Regions from separate parts of the Homo sapiens genome. Here region 2 is linked to region 1. Evidence: promoter capture Hi-C in 16 types of primary human blood cells and fetal thymus (Javierre and others, 2016). All regions are on one chromosome and are shown on one strand. The core of a region is centred on a gene start or on the middle of the fragment in contact, and the rest is flanking DNA. Distances in the headings are between cores, read along the strand shown. Region 1 holds the start of TENT5B (terminal nucleotidyltransferase 5B). Region 2 overlaps WDTC1 (WD and tetratricopeptide repeats 1).

Region 1 (4,019 bases), core at 1,131-3,630:
CCTGCCTGACAGGCGAATGGGAGAATATTACGAGAATGAAATTTAATTTAATATATTGTTAGGAGAACTTTTTTTTGAGAGAGAGAGAGTATAACTATTGTTGCCTAGGCTGGAGTGCAATGGCACAGATCTCGGCTCACTGCAATCTCCGCCTCCCAGGTTCAAGCGATTCTCCTGCCTCAGCCTCCCGAGTAGTTGGGAATACAGGTGCTACAGGTGCCTACCACCACGCCCAGCTAATTTTTTGTATTTTTAGTAGAAATGGGGTTTCACCATGTTAGCCAGGCTGGTCTCAAACTCTTGACCTCAGGTGATCTGCCTGCCTCAGCCTCCCAAAGTGCTGGGATTACAGGCGTGAGCCACCGTGCCTGGTCAGGAGAACAATATTTAAGAAAAAAAATTGCAGCAATGAATCAGATAGACTCAATTTCTGAATTTTTGCTACAGCACATGTTTAAAATCAGAAAAAAAAATTAAAAGCAACAGGTGAGGTTGGGGAAAAATAAAAGTAATAACAGGCCAGGCACAGTAGTTGACACCTGTAATCCCTGCACTTCAGGAGGCTGAAGTGGGCAGATCACTTGAGCCCAGGAGTTCAAGACCAGCCTGGGCAACATGGCCAGACCCTTATCTCTACAAAAAAAAAAAAAAAAACAGAAAAATTAGCTGGGTGCTGTGGCGTGTGCCTGTAGTCCTAGCTACTCAGGAGGCTGGGATTGGGAGGATTGCTTGAGCCAGGGTGGTTGAGGCTGTGGTGAGCCATGATCATGACAGTCAACTCCAGTCCAGGCAACAGAGTGAGACCCTCTCTCAAAAAATAAATAAATAGATAAAAATAAAAAATAAAAGTAACGACAATCATAAGCCTCATCCCCTAGGTCCTGTAAAGTGTGAGAGCAAAACATGTAAACATATTTTTTTTAAATTATGTTTTGTCTAGACCTGCAGAAAAACATGTAAACACATTATTCGTTCTCTAGCTCCAGAAAGGAGCTGGGTCTGCATAGGTACAGTGGAAAAAACATGCACCACAGATTCTATAGCCCTGGTTGAGGACCAGGGCCTTACTAGTTTGCTGTGTGACAGTCGGGTAATCACAAAGCCTCTCTGAGCAGATCTCTCCTTCCCTAAATTGGCTATGCTGTACATCAACGCTCATCATGCTGTGGTTTGCGAGGCCAATCAACAGTGTCTTAGAAAGCCTTTACTTTAGGGCCGGGCACAGTGGCTCACGCCTGTAATCCCAGCACTTTGGGGGTCGAGGTGGGTGGATCACAAGGTCAGGAGTTCAAGACCAGCCTGGCCAATATGGTGAAACCCCCGTGTCTACTAAAAACACAAAAAAATTAGCCGGGCTTGGTGGCGCATGCCTGTAATCCCAGCTAATCGGGAGGCTGAGGCAGGAGAATTGCTTGAACCCGGGAGGCGGAGCTTGCGGTAAGCCAAGATCGCGCCACTACACTCCAGCCTGGGTGACAAAGCGAGACTCTGTCTCGAGAAAAAAAAAAAAAAAAAAAAAAAAAAAGGCCTTTACCTTGGTATGCAGAGTTTATTATTATTATTAATTTTTTTTTTTTTGAGGCGGAGTCTCGCTCTGTCGCCCAGGCTGGGGTGCAGTGGCGCAATCTCGGCTCACTGCAAGCTCCGCCTCCCGGGTTCACGCCATTCTCCTGCCTCAGCCTCCCGAGTAGCTGGGACTACAGGCGCCCGCCACACACCCGGCTAATTTTTTGTATTTTTAGTAAAGACGGGGTTTCACCGTGTTAGCCAGGATGGTCTCGATCTCCTGACCTTGTCATCCGCCCACCTCGGCCTCCCAAAGTGCTGGGATTACAGGCGTGAGCCACCGCGCCGGGCCCAGAGTTGTTTATTATACCTTTCCTAGGCTCTGGAAAACTGCCAGAGCATGAGCAGTGCTGTGCAGAGTTGATCACGTGGCTCAATCTCTTTGGGCTTCTGAAAATAGCAGGACAAGGCTAGGTGACTTCTCAATTTCTTCCAGCGCTAAAAAAAAAAAACAGAAACCTGGAATTTCTCAGTGGTCTGACTCTGCTACAAACTCCGCAGGTCACTTCCCTCCCTCCTGACCCTGGCGGGGCGGGGTGGGCGCTGTCCCTTTAAGTCCAGGCCCGGGCCAATCACAGTGAACAGAAGTTCTTTAAGGACCAAAGGAGGGAATTCAGCCTGAGAAGGAGGGCGGGGCAGGGGCGTGCCCTCTAGCCAATCGGAATCTCCCTAGAGAACAGTGACTCACGTGCAAAGCTCTACAGACCAGTGTCCGGAGCGTTCAGAGGCGGGGCGGCTCTCGCTGTTGGCAGCGGCCCGGACCAATGGGCACGTCGCCCGCGGCCTATAAGAGTCCGCTGGGCCGCGGGCTGCAGGCGCTAGGGTCGGTTAGTCGTCGCCGTCTGAGGTGTTCCCTGGCTTTGTCTCGCCGTCGTTGCCGCCCCGTCCCTGCCTTCGTGCCCCCCGCCTTGGCCCCTGCCCAGCCGCTCTCCCTGTCCTCCTCCCCTTAACCACCCCCACGGTTTCTGCCGTCGGGGCCCGGGGGCCGGGCGGATGATGCCGTCGGAGAGCGGAGCTGAGCGCAGGGACCGGGCGGCTGCTCAGGTGGGGACGGCTGCGGCCACGGCGGTGGCCACGGCAGCCCCGGCAGGCGGCGGCCCCGACCCGGAGGCCTTATCGGCCTTCCCCGGACGGCACCTGAGTGGGCTGAGCTGGCCACAGGTGAAGCGACTGGACGCTCTTCTGAGCGAGCCGATTCCCATTCACGGGCGCGGCAACTTCCCCACGCTGAGCGTGCAGCCCCGGCAGATCGTGCAGGTGAGAGGACGCCAGGCGGGGGATGTGGGGGAATCCCTTCTGAGGCTCTCGTGGCTGGAAGGCATTTGTAGTCTGTTTGACTTTCTAGACAGCTAGGGAAACTGAGGAACGGGGACATGGCTGTAACAATTGCACAGCATTATGAATGGTAGACCAGACCTCCCCCTGCATCTACTAATCCTTCCCCACCTGGCTTTTCCATCTCGACTCTTGGAGAACCCTGATTCCCCACGGATCACTCACCCAGGGCCTGGCTGGGAGAGGGGAGGAGGATGTCAAGGGCATTGGGGGAAGAATTTGTCTCTGCCTGCAAGGACAAAAGACGCCAGGTGGCCCTGGGTGGGTAAGTGTGCATGCTTGAGTCCAAAATAGCTTTTCCTTCCCTATCTGGGCATCCCTGGACCTCACCCTCCTTTCCTCTCTCGAGGTTCTAGGAGCAGCCTCTGCCATTGTGCTCCTACAGCCTTTTGCTGGAGAAACCCCCCCTTCCCCCTCCACCCCGTGGAAAAGCCAAGAAAACTTGTCAGGGACTCCCTCTCTCTCAGCTGGGGTTGTGGCCCAATATTTATTAAGCCGAAGGTCAGACCTGATACCCCACCCCCAAGGGCAACATTAAGTGACCAATTTAGGTGTTTCTTCTCCTTCCCAAGATTGGAAATGAAGGCCAACCCAGGCCTCAGGCCCCACGTCCTCTCTCTCCTGAGGAAAGGGAGAAGAGAATTCTGACAGCCCCTCCCTCCTCCAACTCTTCCCTTTATCTGAACCTCAACGACCCCAAGACTGCTTTTTCATCTGTACAGCCCAGACGCTGTCATGTTCTGAAATACCACAGTGTGGTCATTATTGTACCCATTTTATAGCTGGGGCAGTTTGCCACCCAAGATTACTTAATGAGGTGAAAATCAAACCTAGGGAATTTTGGGTCTTCCCAGGAGCAGATTACAGTAGGTTCAATGTTTTCCCACCCCTTCCCCGGCTCCCAAGGTCAACTTCTAGGTGTTAGGGAGGGTCCTTTGATAAAAGAAACCAAGAAACCCAGCGAGGACTCCTGTGCGTTCCTGCCAACTGATGGCTTCCTTTGGATGAAGTAGGCCTTTCCCCTGCCTCCTACTACCTTGGCTTCCCACAGAGGGGGAGGGTTGCCTGCTGGGGGATTACCTCCCCCACCCTCCCAAGGAACTAGGAACTGGAGGGGG
Region 2 (4,287 bases), core at 941-3,440, 270 kb before region 1:
ACTTGAGCCTGGGAGGTGGAGGTTGGAGTGAGCTGAGATCGCACCACTGCACTCCAGCCTGGGCGACAGAGCCAGACCGTGTCTCAAACAAAACAAAACAAAAACAGAAAAAGAGATATGTCTGAAACAGTACCTTCAAGGGATACCCTCTCAGTCACAGAAAATTTGCCAGGAAACATTCAATCCAAGGACAGCCAATTAACTAGAAGGCTAATCTTTTATTCACCCAGCATTTTTTTTTTTTTTTTTTTTGAGACAGAGTCAGGCTGGAGTGCAGTGGCATGATCTCAGCTCACTGCAACCTCCGCCTCCTGGGTTCATGCCATTCTCCTGCCTCAGCCTCCTGAGTGGCTGAGACTACAGGCGCCCGCCAACACGCCAGGCTAATTTTTTGTATTTTTAGTAGAGACAGAGGTTTCACCGTGTTAGCCAGGATGGTCTCGACCTCATGATCCGCCCGCCTCGGCCTCCCAAAGTGCTAGGATTACAGGCGTGAGCCACCGCGCCCAGCCTCACACGGCAAATTATTCATCAAGCACCTACTGCATGCCAGGTACTGTTCAGATGCTGGGGGTACAGGAGTATAAAAAACTCCTTGGATCTTCCAGAGCTTAATTCAAATAGGTAGAGCCTGGTGCAGTAAGGTAAATTAGGTCAGAGTCTTTATCTTGGGGATTTGAAAAAAAAGAGAGAGAGACTCTGTCTCAAAAATAAAATAAAATAAAATAAAAATAAGAAAAAGAAAAAGGAGAGAGATACCAAACAAACCCAGAAAAAAACAGGAATGTCAGGCTTTAGGAAGAGGCTTAAAGGATCTTTGAGAACATTTTCTGACTTTCAGGCAAAGCCTGTGATCCAGTTTGTGTAGCTACACATAAGGACCCTCTCTTAACTACAACCCAGTGAGATTCATCATATACACATTTAACGTACCTGCTGACTTCAGGCCTAAACCCTTGTGTAATGAGGCTCAACCTAAAGGGTCAATGTCAAAGAGCATGAAAGTTACAGATATTTAATGAAGCCTCCACAAAAAATGCCAACTAGGAAAGACAGGAAGCAGACAGCCAAGTGCTTCTCTCTAACTTCTTAAAAAACAGCATGAATGAGTCTGAACAAGCAAGATTTAGATTAAAATCCAGCAAAATTAACAGAACACTTACTAAATGCCAGGGTAGATGCTAAGCTTTCACTTTTGTCAATTTATTTAAGCTTCACAATACACATACTTATTACCATGTATTAAGGTTATGTAGGTGCAATATTTTAACAGAATGGAGTAAGTTCTGACAGCAAATAAAACTTTAAAAAATTCCTCACTCACTCTCCATTGACTTAATGATATGTTGTCTTAAAGTCAGAATGATTTGAATATCCAGACATTTCCATAAAATCTTTTCTTTTGTTCCTTCTTTAATCCAGCTCAATGTTTTCTCAAATTTTAGTGTGCCTAAGAATTACTTATATGGAGTAGTAATAATTATAAGAATAGGTAAACTTAGCTTACTATGTGTCAGGCCCTGTCCTAAGTACTTCACATAATTACCCTTGAAAATCCATTAAGTTGTCCATAAAATACAACAAATATCATTTTATGTGTACAAGCTGTATTTCCTTGAGCAAGTTCTTTAACCTCTCTGTGTCTCAGGCTCTACATCAGTAAAAAAGATAATAATTGTAGATAGCCTCATAGGGTTGTTGTGGGAAATGAACAGTATTTGTAAAGCACTTTGAGTGGTTACTTTGATAGCTGAGTGGCAGAATCAGAAATAAAATCCAAATATGTCTTTTCCATTGCACCAAGAGAGTTCAAGACTTACAGCACAGGCTGGGCATGGTGGCTCACACCAGTAATCTCAGCACTTTGGGAGGCTAGGCAGGAGGATTGCTTGAGCCCAGGAGTTGGAGACTAGTCTGGACAACATAGTGAGATGCTAGCTCTACAAAAATTTAAAAAATTAGCCAGGTGTGGTGGCGTGCACCTGTAGTCCCAGCTACTGGGGAGGCTAAGGTGTGAGGATCACTTGAATCCGGGAGGTGGAGGCTACAGTGAGCCATGATCACGTCACTGCACTCCAGCCTGGGCAACAGAGCAAGGCTCTGTCTCACAAAAACAAAAACAAAAAAATCCCAAGAAACAAAAAATGTAAGCACAGCCCAATGTGAACTATATTGGAGAAAGAAAAATCCTCCTAAAAGTCATGAAAAGGAGCGATTATATTTCTGGTCGGGCTCCAGCGATCCTCCCACCCCAGCCTCCTGAGTAGCTGGGACTAGAGATGCGTGCCACCACACCTGGTTAATTTTTGTATTTTTTGTGGAGATGGGGTTTTGCCATGTTGACCAGGCTGGCTGGTTTTGAACTCCTGGGCTCAAGTGATCTGCCTGTCTCAGCCTCTCAAAGTGCTGGGATTACATGCGTGAGCCACTGTGTCCGGCCTTAATTCAATCTTTTAACAATTATTCAAGCACCTATTATATACTAGGCATTCTTACACATGCAAAGGTTGTTGTGGCAATTAAGAGAACTCTAGTAGGGTAAGAGAGAAAATAAACAAACATATAAATCAGTAAGATGAATTCAGATGGTACTAAGTGTGATGAATATATGTTATTTATTTTTATTTTTTGAGACAGTGTATTACTGTGTCACCCAGGCTGGAGTGCAGTGGCGCAATCTCAGCTCACTGCAACGTCCACCTCCCAGGTTCAAGTAATTCTCTGCCTCAGTCTCTCAAGTAGCTGGGGTTCGAAGCACACATCACTGCACCTGGCTAATTTTTGTATTTTTAGTTGAGACGGGGTTTTGCCATGTTGGCCTTGGCCTCCCAAAGTGCTGGGATTACAGGCATGAGCCACCATACCTGGCCTGGATATACTTTAGATATAGTGGTCAGGGAAAGCCGCTCTGAGGAATTAATATTTGAGGTGAAATCTGAATGCTGAGAAGTAGCAAGTTACATAAAGATGTGAAGGAAAAGCATTTCAGGCATATGGAATAATGAGTATAAAAATAACAGGCCTGATAATGCCAAAGAAACAGAATGAAAGCCAATGTGGTTAGAGCATTGTGATGAAGGGGACAGAGTAAGATGAGCAAGATGGGCTCAGGGAGGTGAGCAGAGGCCAGATCCTAAGGGTGTTTTACAGGTCATGGCAAGAAGCTTCATGGGGCCAGGAATTGTGTTGGTCTTATTCACTGCTATATTATTTTCCCAGTGTCTAGAACATTTCTGTCATATAGTAGGCATTCAATATTTGCTTGAAAATATGACTGAATTAATGAATAGTTCCTAGTTCTGCCCTCTGGTACTTCAAAGCATGAGTTTACTCCATCATCTAAAGCAGAGGTCAGCAATCTTTTCTGTAAAGGCTCAGATAGTAAATATTGTAGGTCTTGCAGGCCATATGGTCTATATCACTACTACTCAATTCTACCATTGAATCACTAGAGCAAACATAAGCAATACATAAGTGAGTATGCTGTGTTCCCATAAAACTTTACTTATAAAAACAGGTGGCAATAAATTTGAATTTAAAGCTCATATGGGCCAGGTGTGGTGGCTCACGCCTGTAATCCCAGCACTTTGGGAGGCTGAGTTGGGCTGATCATTTGAGGTCAGGGGTTTGAGACCAGCCTGGCCAACATGGTGAAACCCCATCTCTACTAAAACACAAAAAAAATTAGCTGGGTGTCATCATGCATGCCTGTAATCCCAGCTACACAGGAGGCTGAGGCAGGAGAATCGCTTGAAACCAGGAAGTGGAGGTTGCGGTGAGCCAAGATCATGCCACTGCACTCCAGCCTGGGCAACAGAGTGAGACTCTGTCTCAAAAAATTTTTTTCAAATTAAAATAAAATAAAGCTCATATGGAAATACCAGAGACCCAGAATAGACAAAACAATCTTGAAAAATGAACAAAGTTGAAAGACTCATACTTCCCAATTTTATAACTTACTACAATGCTACAGCAATCAAAACAGTGTGGTACTGGCATAAGAATAGACATTTAGATCAATGGACTAGAGTTGAGAGTTCATAAATACATCCTTAAATTTACAGTCAATTGATTTCTGATAAGAGTATCAAGACAGGCTGGGAACAGGGGCTTGTACCTATAATCCCAGCTATTTGGGAGACTAAGACAGGAAGATCACTTGAGACTAAGAGTTTGAGACCAGCCTGTGCAACATAGCCAGACTCCGTCTCTTAAAAAAAAAAGAGTGTCAAGCAATTAAGTAGAAGGAAAGAATAGTCTTTTTAGCACATGGTGCCAGGACAAGTG

The links. Contacts are between HindIII fragments. The CHiCAGO score rates a contact against its expected background, and 5 or more counts as called.
Region 2: a contact is called between a fragment that was not itself captured here and the fragment with the promoter of TENT5B in region 1, in 3 of 17 cell types (endothelial precursors, M0 macrophages and M1 macrophages). The highest score is 7.0, in endothelial precursors.

What each region holds. Positions count from the first base shown.
Region 1 is chr1:27,011,211-27,015,229 of GRCh38, reverse strand. TENT5B (terminal nucleotidyltransferase 5B) reads left to right here and starts at 2,380. Exons shown (of 2, transcript NM_052943.4): 1 at 2,380-2,823. The coding sequence starts at 2,560. RefSeq lists enhancers at 1,826-2,480, 2,481-3,134. The HindIII fragment of the contact is 29,862 bases long and covers 1-4,019 here.
Region 2 is chr1:27,277,405-27,281,691 of GRCh38, reverse strand. All of the region lies in intron 3 of WDTC1 (WD and tetratricopeptide repeats 1), which reads right to left. Among named protein-coding and RNA genes, the nearest start is that of TMEM222, 43 kb to the left of the region's middle. The HindIII fragment of the contact is 1,952 bases long and covers 1,215-3,166 here.